Linked DNA regions of Homo sapiens: region 2 is linked to region 1. The links are contacts of gene promoters, found by promoter capture Hi-C in human tissues and cell types (Jung and others, 2019). All regions are on one chromosome and are shown on one strand. Each heading gives the region's core, a stretch centred on a gene start or on the middle of the fragment in contact. The rest is flanking DNA. Distances are from core to core; before and after follow the strand shown.

The links. The method cuts DNA at HindIII sites, captures the fragments that hold promoters and counts their contacts. A contact is called where the count stands out against the background at its distance.
Region 2: a contact is called between a fragment that was not itself captured here and the fragment with the promoter of HMGCR in region 1, in 1 of the 25 tissues and cell types used here (lymphoblastoid cells).

The regions. Positions count from the first base shown.
Region 1 is chr5:75,332,097-75,339,058 of GRCh38, forward strand. HMGCR (3-hydroxy-3-methylglutaryl-CoA reductase) reads left to right here and starts at 5,124. Exons shown (of 20, transcript NM_000859.3): 1 at 5,124-5,204. RefSeq lists enhancers at 5,035-5,595, 5,596-6,154 and a silencer at 5,236-5,355. The HindIII fragment of the contact is 13,606 bases long and covers 371-6,962 here.
Region 2 is chr5:75,587,233-75,594,194 of GRCh38, forward strand. It overlaps POLK (DNA polymerase kappa), which reads left to right. Exons shown (of 15, transcript NM_016218.6): 11 at 3,112-3,208; 12 at 6,646-6,817. Among named protein-coding and RNA genes, the nearest start is that of ANKDD1B, 21 kb to the right of the region's middle. RefSeq lists an enhancer at 1,399-1,983. The HindIII fragment of the contact is 4,623 bases long and covers 866-5,488 here.

The DNA.
Region 1 (6,962 bases), core at 3,874-6,373:
TTGCCTATCATAGAGTAAGGCCCTCAGTGGATATCTACTGACCTTTGGCAGGAGTGATAGTCAGTCATCATATCTGCCAACAGCTATGTGTGGTCAATTATCATTTGCAATAAGCTAGTCTAAAAAAATTATCCTGAAATTTAAAATTACATAACAAAACAAAAAAACACTGTGCAGGACAAAGAGAAAGAAAACTGCCCAAGGCTGGAAAATACAAATTTGAACACAGCTGGGAGCTGTAAAGGGAAACAAGTACAACTCTTCACTGATATTATGAAAAGTCTTTTGTAATGAAGCATCAGAAAATTAAACAATCATACGATATGTACTAATACAAAATAGTGCACATTATGCTAATACAAAAGATAAGACAGTGGAGTGGTTTAGGGCATATGCTTGGGAGCCACATTTCAAAGTTTATATTCTGGCTCTGCTACTTCCAAGCTATGTGGAATTAGGCAAATTACCTAACATCTCTGTTTCTGTAGCTTCATCCTTTGTAAAATGCAGATTCTACTATTGTTCTCCTCAGTGGACTTTTAATAAAAGGAGTTAATATATCAAAAGCACTTAGACAAGTGGCTGACATATAGAAGCAGCAATATAAATATTTTAGTATTATTGTTTTTGTTATAATTCCCCATCTTTAAGCATGACTCATGACAACAAAAACCAGAAATGTTAAGGTTGGAAGCCTAACACATTTATATATGTAAATAGTAAAGAGGATGGATTAAGATGGCAATGTGGGTCATTCATTACTTTTAAAGGGGGTCTTAACATTATACTTTTAGGCGGGTGCGGTAGTTCACGCTTGTAATCCCAGCACTTTGGGAAGCTGAGGCGGGCGGGTTGCTTGAGGTCAGGAGCTCGAGACCAGCCTGGCCAATATGGCGAAACCCCGTCTCTATTAAAAATACAAAAATTGGGCCAGGCGCGGTGGCTCACGCCTGTAATCCCAGCACTTTGGGGGGCCGAGGCGGGCGGATCACGAGGTCAGGAGATTGAGACCATCCTGGCTAACACGGTGAAACCCCGTCTCTACTAAAAATACAAAAAAATTAGCCGGGCGTGGTGGCTGACACCTGCAGTCCCAGCTACTTGGGAAGCTAGCTGAGTCAGGAGAATGGCGTGAACCCAGGAGGCGGAGCTTGCAGTGAGCCAAGATCGCCCCACTGCACTCCAGTATGGGCGACCGAACGAGACTCCGTCTCAAAAAGAAAAACAAAGTGTATGTATACATATACACACACACACACACACACACACACACACACACACACACACACAAATTAGCCGGGCATGGTGGTGCACCCCTGTAATCCCAGCTACCCAGGAGACTGAGGCAAGAGAATCGCTGAACCCAGAAGGCAGAGGTTTCAGTGAGCTAAGATCGTGTTACTGAGAGGTGACAGCGTGCTGGCAGTCCTCAGAGCCCTCGCTTGCTCTTGGCACCTCCTCTGCCTGGGCTCCCACTTTGGCAGCATTTGAGGAGCCCTTCAGCCCCCCCCTCCACTGCACTGTGGGAGCCCTTTTCTGGGCTGGCCAAGGCTGGAGCCCACTCCCTCAGCTTGCAGGGAGGTGTGGAGGGAGAGGCGTGAGCGGGAACCGGGGCTGCGTGCGGCGCTTGCGGGCCAGCTGGAGTTCCGGGTGGGCGTGGGCTTGGCGGGCCCCACACTCGGAGCAGCCAGCCAGCCCTGCTGGCCCCGGGCAATGAGGGACTTAGCACCCAGGCCAGTGGCTGCGGAGGATGTACTGGGTCCCCTAGCAGTGCCAGCCCACCGGCGCTGCGCTCGATTTCTCACGGAGCCTTAGCTGCCTTCCCGCAGGGCAGGGTTCGGGACCTGCCGCCCGCCATGCCTGAGCCTCCCACCCACTCCGTGGGTTCCTGTGCAGCCCCAGCCTCTCCGACGAGCACCACCCCCTGCTCCACGGCGCCCAGTCCCATCGACCACCCAAGGGCTGAGGAGTGTGAGCGCACGGCGCGGGACTGGCAGGCAGCTCCACCTGCAGCCCTGGTGCAGGATCCACTGGGTGAAGCCATCTGGGCTCCTGAGTCTGGTGGGGACGTGGAGAGTCTTTATATCTAGCTCAGGGATTGTAAATACACCATTCAGCACCCTGTGTTTAGCTCAAGGTTTGTGAGTGCACCAATCGACACTCTGTATCTAGCTGCTCTGGTGGGGCCTTGGAGAACCTTTATGTCTAGCTCAGGGATTGTAAACACACCAATCAGCACCCTGTGTTTAGCTCAAGGTTTGTGAGTGCACCAATCGACACTCTGTATCTAGATGCTCTGGTGGGGCCTTGGAGAACCTGTGTGTGGAAACTGTATCTAACTAATCTGATGGGGACGTGGAGAACCTTTGTATCTAGCTCAGGGATTGTAAACGCACCAATCAGTGCCCTGACAAAACAGGCCACTCGGCTCTACCAATCAGCAGGATGTGGGTGGGGCCAGATAAGAGAATAAAAGCAGGCTGCCTGAGCCAGCATTGGCAACCAGCTCGGGTTCCCTTCCACACTGTGGAAGCTTGGTTTTTTTGCTCTTTGCAATAAATCTTGCTACTGCTCACTCTTTGGGTCCACGCTGCTTTTATGAGCTGTAACACTCACCACGAAGGTCTGCAGCTTCACTCCTGAGCCCAGCAAGACTAAGAGCCCACTGGGAGGAACGAAAAACTCCGGACGCGCTGCCTTAAGAGCTATAACACTCACCGCGAAGGTCTGCAGCTTCACTCCTGAGCCAGCGAGACCACGAACCCACCAGAAGAAAGAAACTCCGAACACATCTGAACATCACAAGGGACAGACTCCAGACGCGCCACCTTAAGAGCTGTTAACACTCACCGCGAGAGTCCACGGCTTCATTCTTGAAGTCAGTGAGACCAAGAACCCTCCAATTCCGGACCCATTACTGCACGCCCGCCTGGGCTCTGTCTCTAAAAATAAAAAAATTATACTTTTATAAACTCTTTCCTTGAAGGGTTAAATGCATATGAGGAAGCGGCACATGGACTTCCTTGGCGCTTCCCCCACCCTCCCTTTCTACCTTGTGTCCATACCAAATTTTGTGATTTATCACTAAGTACAAATTATTAGTTAAGTGCTATAAAGATTCTTTTGAAATACCTTTTGGGAAGGATATAGAATTTATTTTAAGAGCATAAAACTAGACAACTGGTGTTTCTTTATTGCTTGCTTTGGAACTCATATTCCTATTGGAGTTCCCAATTAGGCAGTTTGCGAATGAAAATTTCTAAATCTTGGGCTAAAGCCTGTTTTGGTAACAACTTTAGTCCTTATTTGAATTACATTAGTAGGCATGTGTACAACCTGTAACTTCTGAGATATTTGGTCCTTGAGACTTCTAGCGGCATTAAAAATATGACAGGTTCTAGGCTCTCGGTACTTACACACTTTTCTCTCTTTTTTTTTTTTTTTTTTGACAAGGCTGCTAAGAGAACACTGCAATCTTTGGGTAGTTCACCCGTTTTCTTTACTGTGCAAGGTTCATAAAGGCAGGCACTATGTCTGTCATGTTTGTCACTATATCTCCCATGCCAACCACAGTGTGTACTTCACATAATGAGCATTTCAAAGGCAACATTTGGTAAAGAGATATGAATGAAGGTCTTACACTGAAGCAGTGGGGAACAGTAGAACCAGCCTAAGCATTAGATCTGGGTTCAAATTCCAGTTTTGCTCATTATCTATGTGATCTACAGCAAGTTGCTTGACAAACTTTAATTTTTACTTTTTTGTAAAATGGGAATAATACCTATTATATAAGGATTATAAGAATCTATAATCATTTATTAAAACTAAGGAGTGTTTAGTGTTTTCTTCGTAATGTGTTTCAAAATATGGGCTTTAAAAATTGAGTGAAATACAATTCCTGTCCTTAATAAATTTCCACATACGATAGTAAGACAAATAAAAAAATACTACGGAAATTTTATGGGTTTTCAAGGTCGGGAGTGATGATGTGTTTGAGGGAATTAGGAAAGGAGGTGGCATATGAAAAAGTCCTTAAGGGATATTTAGGATCTCAGCAGTTAAAATGGGTAGGCATATCCAAGGTAAACAAAGAGAACATAAGCAGGGAGGTAAAAAGGTACTGAGTGTGACTGAAGAAGGGCCAGTTACTCCTGGCTGAACTGTAAGGTTCGCACAGGAAAGTAGAGATACGTCAGAAATGTGTGGTGGGGCCATATTAGTGGTGACAGGTTCTTTCTTTAATCCAGTAGACAATGAGAAACGCTGATTTGGGTCTATGGCATAATAGGAAGTAGTATGCCACATACTGCATGTGGGAGTTCTGCAGGACAGATTGGGAAGTGCATGCGTGTAAGACTGGGAAGACCAGTTAGGAGAGGCTATTGCACTGTTTTAAGTAAGACATAATAAAGCCCTGCACCAGGCGGAGAGCAGAAGGAACGCACAGAAGACGCAGGAGAGGCACATTTCAGAGAGAATCCAGTATGCAATGGATGTCGCACACAAGAGAGAGAGACGCAGGTGACCGGAGCCATTTACACTAATGGGTAAATCTCGGGAAAGCGCTGGTTTCGGCTACCGGCCAGTTACAGGTTTGAGGTGCCCGTCGCCGCCACCTTCCCTTTTTTTATATTCCTCTTTTTCTCATGGCCGCCTCCGCTTCCCTCCATCTCTCCCGCGCTAGTAACTGAGCTTTCAGTCATCGACCTGACCCTGCGTTTTCCCTCACGCTCCGATTCTGCTTCCTATCACTGCCTCCTACTGTACTATCACAGCCAGGACGAGCACGGGTCAGGCACTGAGGCTGTGGGACACTCCACCCGCCTGGTCCCCTATCGCCTCCGCCTAGGCAGCTGCCATGCGTGCGCCCCCACAGCTCTAGGACCAATAGGCAGGCCCTAGTGCTGGGACTCGAACGGCTATTGGTTGGCCGAGCCGTGGTGAGAGATGGTGCGGTGCCTGTTCTTGGCCCTGCAGAGAGCTGTGGGCGGTTGTTAAGGCGACCGTTCGTGACGTAGCGCCGTCAGGCCGAGCAGCCCCCAGGCGATTGGCTAGACAATCGAACGATCCTCTCTTATTGGTCGAAGGCTCGTCCAGCTCCGAGCGTGCGTAAGGTGAGGGCTCCTTCCGCTCCGCGACTGCGTTAACTGGAGCCAGGCTGAGCGTCGGCGCCGGGGTTCGGTGGCCTCTAGTGAGATCTGGAGGTGAGGCGGGCGGTGACCGAGAAGAGGGGCAGGGGCGGCGGGGAGCGGGGCGGAGATGGGTGGGAGCGGGGTTTGGGCTGTGTTGGTGGCAATTCTGGAGCTTCCCTCGGCCCTGGGAAGTGGCTACCGGCAGCTCCTGCGGACCTGGAGGGGGCTGCGGTTGCGCTTTGTCGGTGTGGCAGCTCGGACCCGCGGGGACTGCAAGGAATGTCCTTGAGGCCCGGCAGGCCGAGCGGCGGCCGGCATCAGTGCCGGAGTAACCCGGGGTCCCGGGGTGGGCTTGAGAGGCGGGCGGCGGTCTGGCCTCTTCGTGACTGCGGTCATCATCGGTGGACCCGCGGGGCGTAGCTGCGTTCATCGTCCCTGTTCAGTCAGAGTAGGCAGTGCTGGCTGCACGGTCACGAAAATCGGGGCGGAAAGGGTGTCAGGCAGGGTGACCTCGGAGGCCCCTGGATTCGAGAAATGCTAGGGGTCTATGGGGCTGTCGGGCCGGCAGCTCGCAGGGCAGACGGGAGAAGCGCCTGCATCCCGGGATCCGGGCATTCACGCCCAGGAACTGCTGTTCGTTAGCACCTTTCTTTTAGGTGACGGGAAAGATCTCTGTAAATACTGCTGACTAACTTAGAACCATGAAAGAACCGTGGATTGGTGTAGATGTGTCTGGTTATTTACAGGAGAACGGCTTGAGAGGATGCGGAGCCCAACGTGGGGATTCGCACAATGACTCAAAAGATTCTTCTCCCTCTTTTTTTTTTTTTTTTTTTGGTAAGGGGTGTAGTCTCCTTGGTGCTGATATTCTTTTAGGAAAAATGTACCTTGGAGATACAAATATAGAACAGTTAATTTCTGCAGTAGGAGGAGGTCGATGTACTCCATTCTTAAGTAGTCGTTTGAAATATTTCAGGATTTGAGGATATTCCTTCTTAGACATGGTCCTGCAGAGTCGTAGGAAGCATTTGTTTCTGGGCTATACTAAATGTGCATGATTTCGGCGTCCCACAAGGTAGAGAATGTACTTTTTGTTTACTTATGAATTTATTTTCCTCTCCATGCAGTGAAAGGCATTTTGCAATTTAGAGATAATCTAGCAAAGACCTGGACAGTACTTTGGGGATAGGCTGGATTTTGCAGGCCTGCTTTGTTGTAGTGTTCTTCCAGAACTTATGATAAACTTGGTGGCCAAAACAAATGGGAATTAGTAACATGAAGGTTAAACAAAATTGCACATAGGTTACAGCATTAACATGAAAATTGTCGGGTATGTGGGATAACCATTTCAAGATAAGAGTGTGAGTATGCGTGCATGCACACACTCTTTGTATTCCTTTATGGTCTAGTTTCTAGACTATAGATAGCCACATTATGGAATTACATGGTCTACTTAGGTTGACCCATGTGAAATTGCCAGTATTTAAAATTCAACTAACCTACAAAAATAGCAGTTTCATATGATTCCATTTAACACTTATCTTTGTCAGAGAACTTTGGAGCTCTAGCTTCATAAGTGAATGAAGAGAATAGATATGACTTAAAAAACAACATGTAATAGAATGTGAGCTAATTGGGTATAGAATCCAGATTTCCTGATTGCCAGTGCAAGATTCGTTTTTTTTTTTTTTTTTTTCCTTCTTTCTGGAATACCAGCTTGAGCAGCAGAATGCTAGATCTTGTTGGGATTGAAAATGACTGCCATATAAGACGCAGTTCTTGGCTTCAAAGAGACAAAATGTACACATTTATTAATTTGAGAACACTGTG
Region 2 (6,962 bases), core at 1,927-4,426, 250 kb after region 1:
CAGTTGCTATAATCTCAAAAATTAACTTCAGCTATTTTTTAATGTTGGTTTTAATCCTACCTAGTGAAAACCAAGCATTTTAGAATTTCATATCTTAATTTCTAGCTTGTTTATAAGGACAATTGAGTATTTACTTCGGAAATTTAAGAAGTAACAATGGGAATTCTTCCTAAAATTCTTTCAACATTGGTGATTAAGCAGAAGCTTAATCAAACAGTAAAATATTACTGATAAAAGAGAGCTTAAAGATGATCTAGTTTAGTGGTTTACAATCCTGTTTGAAAACCAAATGAAATAATGATGGAAACTTACCGTTTGGGGAAATAAGTCATTGTTTGAAACATCCCTCAATTATCTCCTCAAAGCAGCAAGTTTCCACTGAGACATTTAAGAAACACTGACCTAGGGCCCGGCAAGGTGGCTCACCCCTGTAATCCCAGCATTTTGGGAGGCTGAGGTGGGCAGATCACTTGAGGCCAGGAGTTCGAGACCAGCCTGGCCAACATGGCAAAACCCTGACTCTACTAAAAATACAAAAATCAGCCCGGTGTGGTCGCTTAAACTTTAATCCCAGCTACTTGGGTGGCTGAGGCACAAGAATTGAACCCAGGAGGTGGAGTTTGCAGTAAGCTGAGATGGCACCACTCACTCCACTCCAGCCTAGGTGACAGAGTGAGACTCTGTCTCAAAATCAAAACAAGACAAAACAAAACACTGACCTAGTACAAGATTGTGTTCATATTTCACATATATTATTTGTGGTCAGAAAAGCTGATTAACTTTTACAATACAACATAATAAATGGCTTTGATAAAAATTGCTATTTTAGGTTTTGGTCCATATGAAAGCAATCAAAGAGAGAGAGAAAAAAAAAATCCAAAAGCAAAATAGTATTGCCATATTTGATAAATTTCTCTGCCATTTTCTCTGCTATTGGGAAAACTATTTTATGTACAGGAATGTGTTCTCCACTTTTTTTTTCTGGAAACTTTCTCCCCTTGGCTTTCTAAAATGGGCAATATAACATCAAATTTGGTATGAAGTTGGGGGAAAGGAGGTTGCAATTTATATCACAAACTAACTAACTTCTCTAATATAGAAAGAACTCATAATCAATAAAAAGGAACAGTAAGCCAACAGAAGAAATGAACAAAGTTCTAAATAATTAACAGAAAAGGAAATACAAATGGCTCTTAAAACAAGTGAAATTACTACCATTTTCATTTATAATTAAAGAAATACAGATTGAAAGTTCTCTCAGATACCTTTCTTTCACTAGTCAGGTTGGCAAAGATTCTAACATACTCTATTGGCAAGACTGTAGGAGTGAAAAATGTGTAAACTTTAGAGGGAGTACATTAGGTTTTTTTATTGCTATTAAAACAAATTTCTACAAATTTAGTGGCTCAAAACAAAACAAATTTATTCTCTATCATTCTGAAAGTCAGCGGTTCTAAAGTTAATGTGTTGGTAGAGTTCCATTTCTTCTAGAAGCTCTGGGAGAGAGTCCATTTCTTTATGAAAAGCTTCTAGAGGCCACAGAATCTTTGGCTCATAGCCTCAGCAACTTCTTTCTCTGACTCTAACCCTCCTGCCTCCTTCTTATAAGGACCCTTGGGATTACGTTGGGCACAGCTGGACATTCCAGAGTAATCTCTGTCCGTCAGAATTTAATCACCTCTGCTAAATCCCTTTTGTCATGTAAGATACTAGGTTCACAGATTCCAGGGATTAGGATGTGGACATCTTTAGGGACCATTATCTAGCCTACCACAGGGGGTAAGAAATTTCATAATATGTATCAAAATCACAGATACACATGTACTTTGATGCCATAATTCTTTTACTAAGAATTAATTCCACAGATTTAGTCACATGTCATTTTACATATATACAGGGTTACTCACTGCATTTTTTATGATAGAAAAAAACTGTAATATCCATGAATAGAGAATTGGTTAAATTACCTTACATCATTAAATTAGAATATTATGCTGCTGTATAAAAATGAGGAAATCATTTACTCATGGGGAACTCTCACCATGATAAATTGAGAAAAGCAGGGTACTAAACAATGTATCTAAAATTCTACTGTTTATATAAAAAATGAGAGGAAAATGTCTTCTTGTTTGCTTATTTTATATATATACACACATACACACACACACACACACACACACACACACACACACACACACACACACACGTGGAATATTTCTTTTTTTTGTTTGTTTTTGAGAGGGAGTCTCGCTCTGTCGCCCAGGCTGGAGTGCAGTGGTGCGATCTCGGTTCACTGCAAGCTCCGCCTCCTGGGTTCTCGCCATTCTCCTGCCTCAGCTTCCCGAGTAGCTGGGACTACAGGCGCCCGTATACGTGGAATATTTCTAAGGAATTCATAAGAATAAGAAGCTGACACATTGGTTGCCACTAGGGAAGAGAACTGAGTAGCTGAGGATAAGGTTAGAAGTAGAAAGGGGACTCTTTACTGAAGAGTCACTTGCTCAGGGTCCATACTCATCATTCTGGTCTCTTTGTATTATCCTCTTTTAAGTTAATATCACTTGTCAACTTCTTTCAACACTTTTTTGCAGATGAATTCAAAATACCTACATTTAATCTTATCAGCCTTCTATTTTCAGCTGTCTATTAAACAACTCTGCGTAGGTTCCATGAGCCAACCCCTTAAATCTACTTAAAGATGTTTCTCATCCATAAAATCCATGTGCAGTAATTGGAATGATGTTCTCATTTGGACTTTCTTAAGATAATCTTCTGTAATAAAGTCTATATATACATATACCCTAATCTGTTTTAAGTTCTGGAGGCATTACCATTATCTGTTGGTAATTTTAATTATCTTTTTTGTGATATAATAGAGCAAGAGCATAAAATTGTTTCTTTGCTAATCAAGCTTTCCTGTTTAGGTGGGTTTCCATTATTTATATAGATCTTAGATGTTTTTACTTAATTAAATTTTAGTTCATCTGAAAACTTTATTTTGTAATACAGAAAAATATAACTTAATGCTAGCCATATAAACATGCATACCATTTCCAAATTATCCTGGATTATAGTTTACTTTGTGCGCCAAAATTATTCTTGTCTTTCTAGGACATTCAGTGAGATAAATAAAGCGGAAGAGCAATACAGCCTATGTCAAGAACTTTGCAGTGAGCTTGCTCAGGATCTACAGAAAGAAAGACTTAAGGTGCTTTATTTTGATATGGTGTCCTTAGTTTTTAAGTTTTTTAATAGTAAAATGCTACCTTAAAAGCTAGAGTTAGATTACACATTTCTTAAAGATGAATACAAATTAATAAACGTCAGAATAGTGTATTCCTATCCCCAACAGTCAGATACAAATCCAATTCTGACCCATATCTGGAGTCTGTGATGAGGTGATTCTATGAAGAAGCACCTTATGAGAATAGAGTGGTTCAGTATAATTCAGAGGACTTTACTTCTGTACCTCAGGAGTACATTTGAATAAGTTAAAACCAAAGTTACACTGGCATTAGAGAATAAGGCAAAAGAAAGGATTTCCAGAGAATTGTATTCACATATTACAAATGTCTTTCCAATCATCCTTTAATGTTTTTCTTACTTAGACAATGACCTTCTAAAATAGGCATTTTGTTTCAAGGTTGTAGTCCAGGTTGCTTAACACAGGACAACAAAACCTATAAGGCTTTGAACTTGCTATTTTATAATCTTCACTCACAACAATTTATATTTAGTGTATTCCCAACACTCTCAAACCAGAGGTAGAGTCAGTACAAAGCGTAATAAAAAGGTATTTTAAAATTGCTACACAGGTACAAATATCTGGTTTGATAGAAGAAATAAGACCTAGTGTTCAATAGATCAGTAAGGTGACTATAGTGTACAGTAATCTGTGTTACATACCAGAATAGCTAGAAGAGAATAATTTGAATGTTTCTCGCATAAAGAAAATACAAATATTTAAGGTGATAGATATCCGAAGTACACTTATTTGATCTTTACAAAGATCAAAACTATGAGGTACATGTGATAATTTACTATGTTCATATAATGCATCAGTAAAACTATTATGCTAATCAGTAAAAAATTTGTTTTAAAAAAATTACTACAAAGAGTGGAATATCTGATGAGTATCTTTCTCTATCATACCTTGAATTTAAAGAATTTTCTTTTTAAAAAATATTTAAATAAACATTTAATTTTATGATCATTTTAGATTTCCAGAAAAGTCACAAAAATAATAGAATTTCAGCATACTCCTCACCTGGTTTCCTCCATTATTAACATATTACCAGAGTACATTTGTCAAAAATAAGAAACTGACATTTAATACATTGTCAATTATTAACCCCAGACTTTATTTGGAGTTTACTTATTTTTCCATTAATGTCGTCTCTGCCTTCCAGAATTCAGTCCAGGGGACTACATTGCATTTAGCTGTCATGTCTCTCCAGTTTCCTGGTCTGTGATAGTTTCTTAGTTTTTCCTTCTTTTTCATGACCTTGACAGTGTTGGGTAGTACTATACAGGTATTCTGCAGAATGTCGCCCAATTTGGGTTTGTCTGATGATTTTCTCATGATTAGATCAGGGTTATGGATTTTTAGAAAGAGTATCACAAAGAGGAAGTGTCCTTCTCATAACATCCTATCATGGGGTGTATAATAGCCACATGATGTCATGGTTGATATTAACCTTCATCACTTGGTTAGTGTTTGCTAGGCTTCTCCACTGTGAAGTTAGTGTTTTTCCCTTTGGAAGTAAGTCAGTAAATCTAACTACCCTCAGATGAGAGAGAGCAGGAATTAACTTCCTCCTCCAGGGGATACTAAAATATACATAACATAAAATTTACATTTTAACCATTTTTAAGTGTACAGTTCATATTGTTTTATAACCATCACCACCACCCATCTCTAGAACTGTTTCATTGTCTCCACTGAAACCCTGCACTCATAAAACACTAAGTGTAAAGGGAATTCTTACATTAAATTGTTTGGCATAGCATCTGGCAATGCAGAAGGCACACAATAAGTGTGAACTATTCATAAGTCGTTTTCAGTGAGACACTTTTAGAAAGATTTTTTTCCTTCCTTTGTAGGTAATTAATCAACCTCCAAAAGAGATTCAGTAAAAATAAAAGTGATCATTTAACCTTTCCCTCTTGTAATGGTCTTTTATAAAAATTCAGTTGGGGGGCCAGGCACGGTGGCTCATTCCTGTAATCCCAGCTCTTTGGGAGGCCAAGGCAGGGGGATCACCTGAGGTCAGGAGTTTGAGACCAGCCTGGCCAACATGGTGAAACCCCATCACTACTAAAAATGGTGGCGGGCACCTGTAATCCCAGCTACTCTGGAGGCTGAGGCTGGAGAATCACTTGAACCTGGGAGGCAGAGGCTGCAGTGAGCCAAGATCCCGCCACTGCACTCCAGCCTGGGCATCAGAGTGAGACTCTGTCTAAAACAACAAAAAAAAAAACAAACAAAAAAATTCAGTTGGGAAGGGGAATAAAAATTACTGGCTAAAATGGGATTTTAGGTCAGGCATAGTGGCTCATGCCTGTAATCCCAGCACATTGGGAAGCTGAGGCCAGAGGATTGCTTGAGCCCAGGAGTTCAAGACCAGCCTGGACAACATAGCAAAATCACGTCTCTACAAAGAAAATGTAAAAATTAGCTGGGCATGGTGGCACGAGTGTGTAGTCCCAGCTACTTGGGAGGCTGAGGTAGGAGGATAGCATGAGCCTGGGAGGTCAAAGCTGCAGTGAGCCACGATCATGCCACTGTACTCCAGCCTGGGCAATAGAATGGGACCCCCATCTCAAAAACAAAATAAAATGGGATTTTAGCTTATGTTTGGAAAGGGAAGTAAACGTTTTTGGCTAAAATGGTATTTTAATTATTCTTTTTTTTTCTGAGACAGAGTCTTGCCCTGTCACACAGGCTGGAGTGCAATGGTGTGATCTCGGCTCAATGCAACCTCCATCTCCTGGCTTCAATCTATTCTCCTGCCTCAGCCTCCCCAGCCGCTGGGATTACAGGTGCCTGCCATCACGCTCAGCTAATTTTTGTATTTTTATTAGAGACAGGGTTTCACCATGTTGGCCAGGCTGGTCTTGAACTCCTGACCTCGTGATCCGCCCGCCCAAAATGCTGGGATTACAGGCGTGAGCCACTGCAGCCGGCCTCTTATTCTTTATGATATGTTTATCACCATGTTTTATAAATAATTGGTTATAATTCCATATTCTTATGTCCGTAAACCTTTCTGAATTTTTCTAACATGTAAATGACTTTTTTCTAGAAGTTAGGAAGTCATACAGAATAATGTATTCTGGTTGGGTGCAGTAGCTCATGCCTATAATCCCAACACTTTGGGAGGCCAGGATCGCTTGTGGCCAGGAATTTGAGACTAGCCTGGGTAACATAGTGAGACTCTGATTCTACAAAAAAATAAAAAATTAGCTGGTGTACTGGCACGCACTTGTAATCTTAGCTACTCAGGAGGCTGAGGCAAGAGGATTGCTTGAACCCAGAAGTTGAAGGCTGCAGTGAGCTACAGCTGTGCCAGCGCACTCCAGCATGGACAACAGAGAGAGACCCTGTCTCATAAATAAATAAATAACATATTGTATATGTTATAGGGTAGAACTGTTACCATTAAGTTGAAGAATGTGAATTTTGAAGTAAAAACTCGTGCATCTACAGTTTCATCTGTTGTTTCTACTGCAGAAGAAATATTTGCCATTGCTAAGGAATTGCTAAAAACAGAAATTGATGCTGATTTTCCACATCCCTTGAGATTAAGGCTTATGGGTATGACTTTTTCATTTTTTTGTTTTTCCTTAAATCTGCTAGATTTTCCCAAATAATCAACTTTGGGAATACAGGGGGCCCCCAACTTAACAATGGTTCAACTTAATGATTTTTCAACTTTGCGACAGTGGGAAAGCTGTATGCT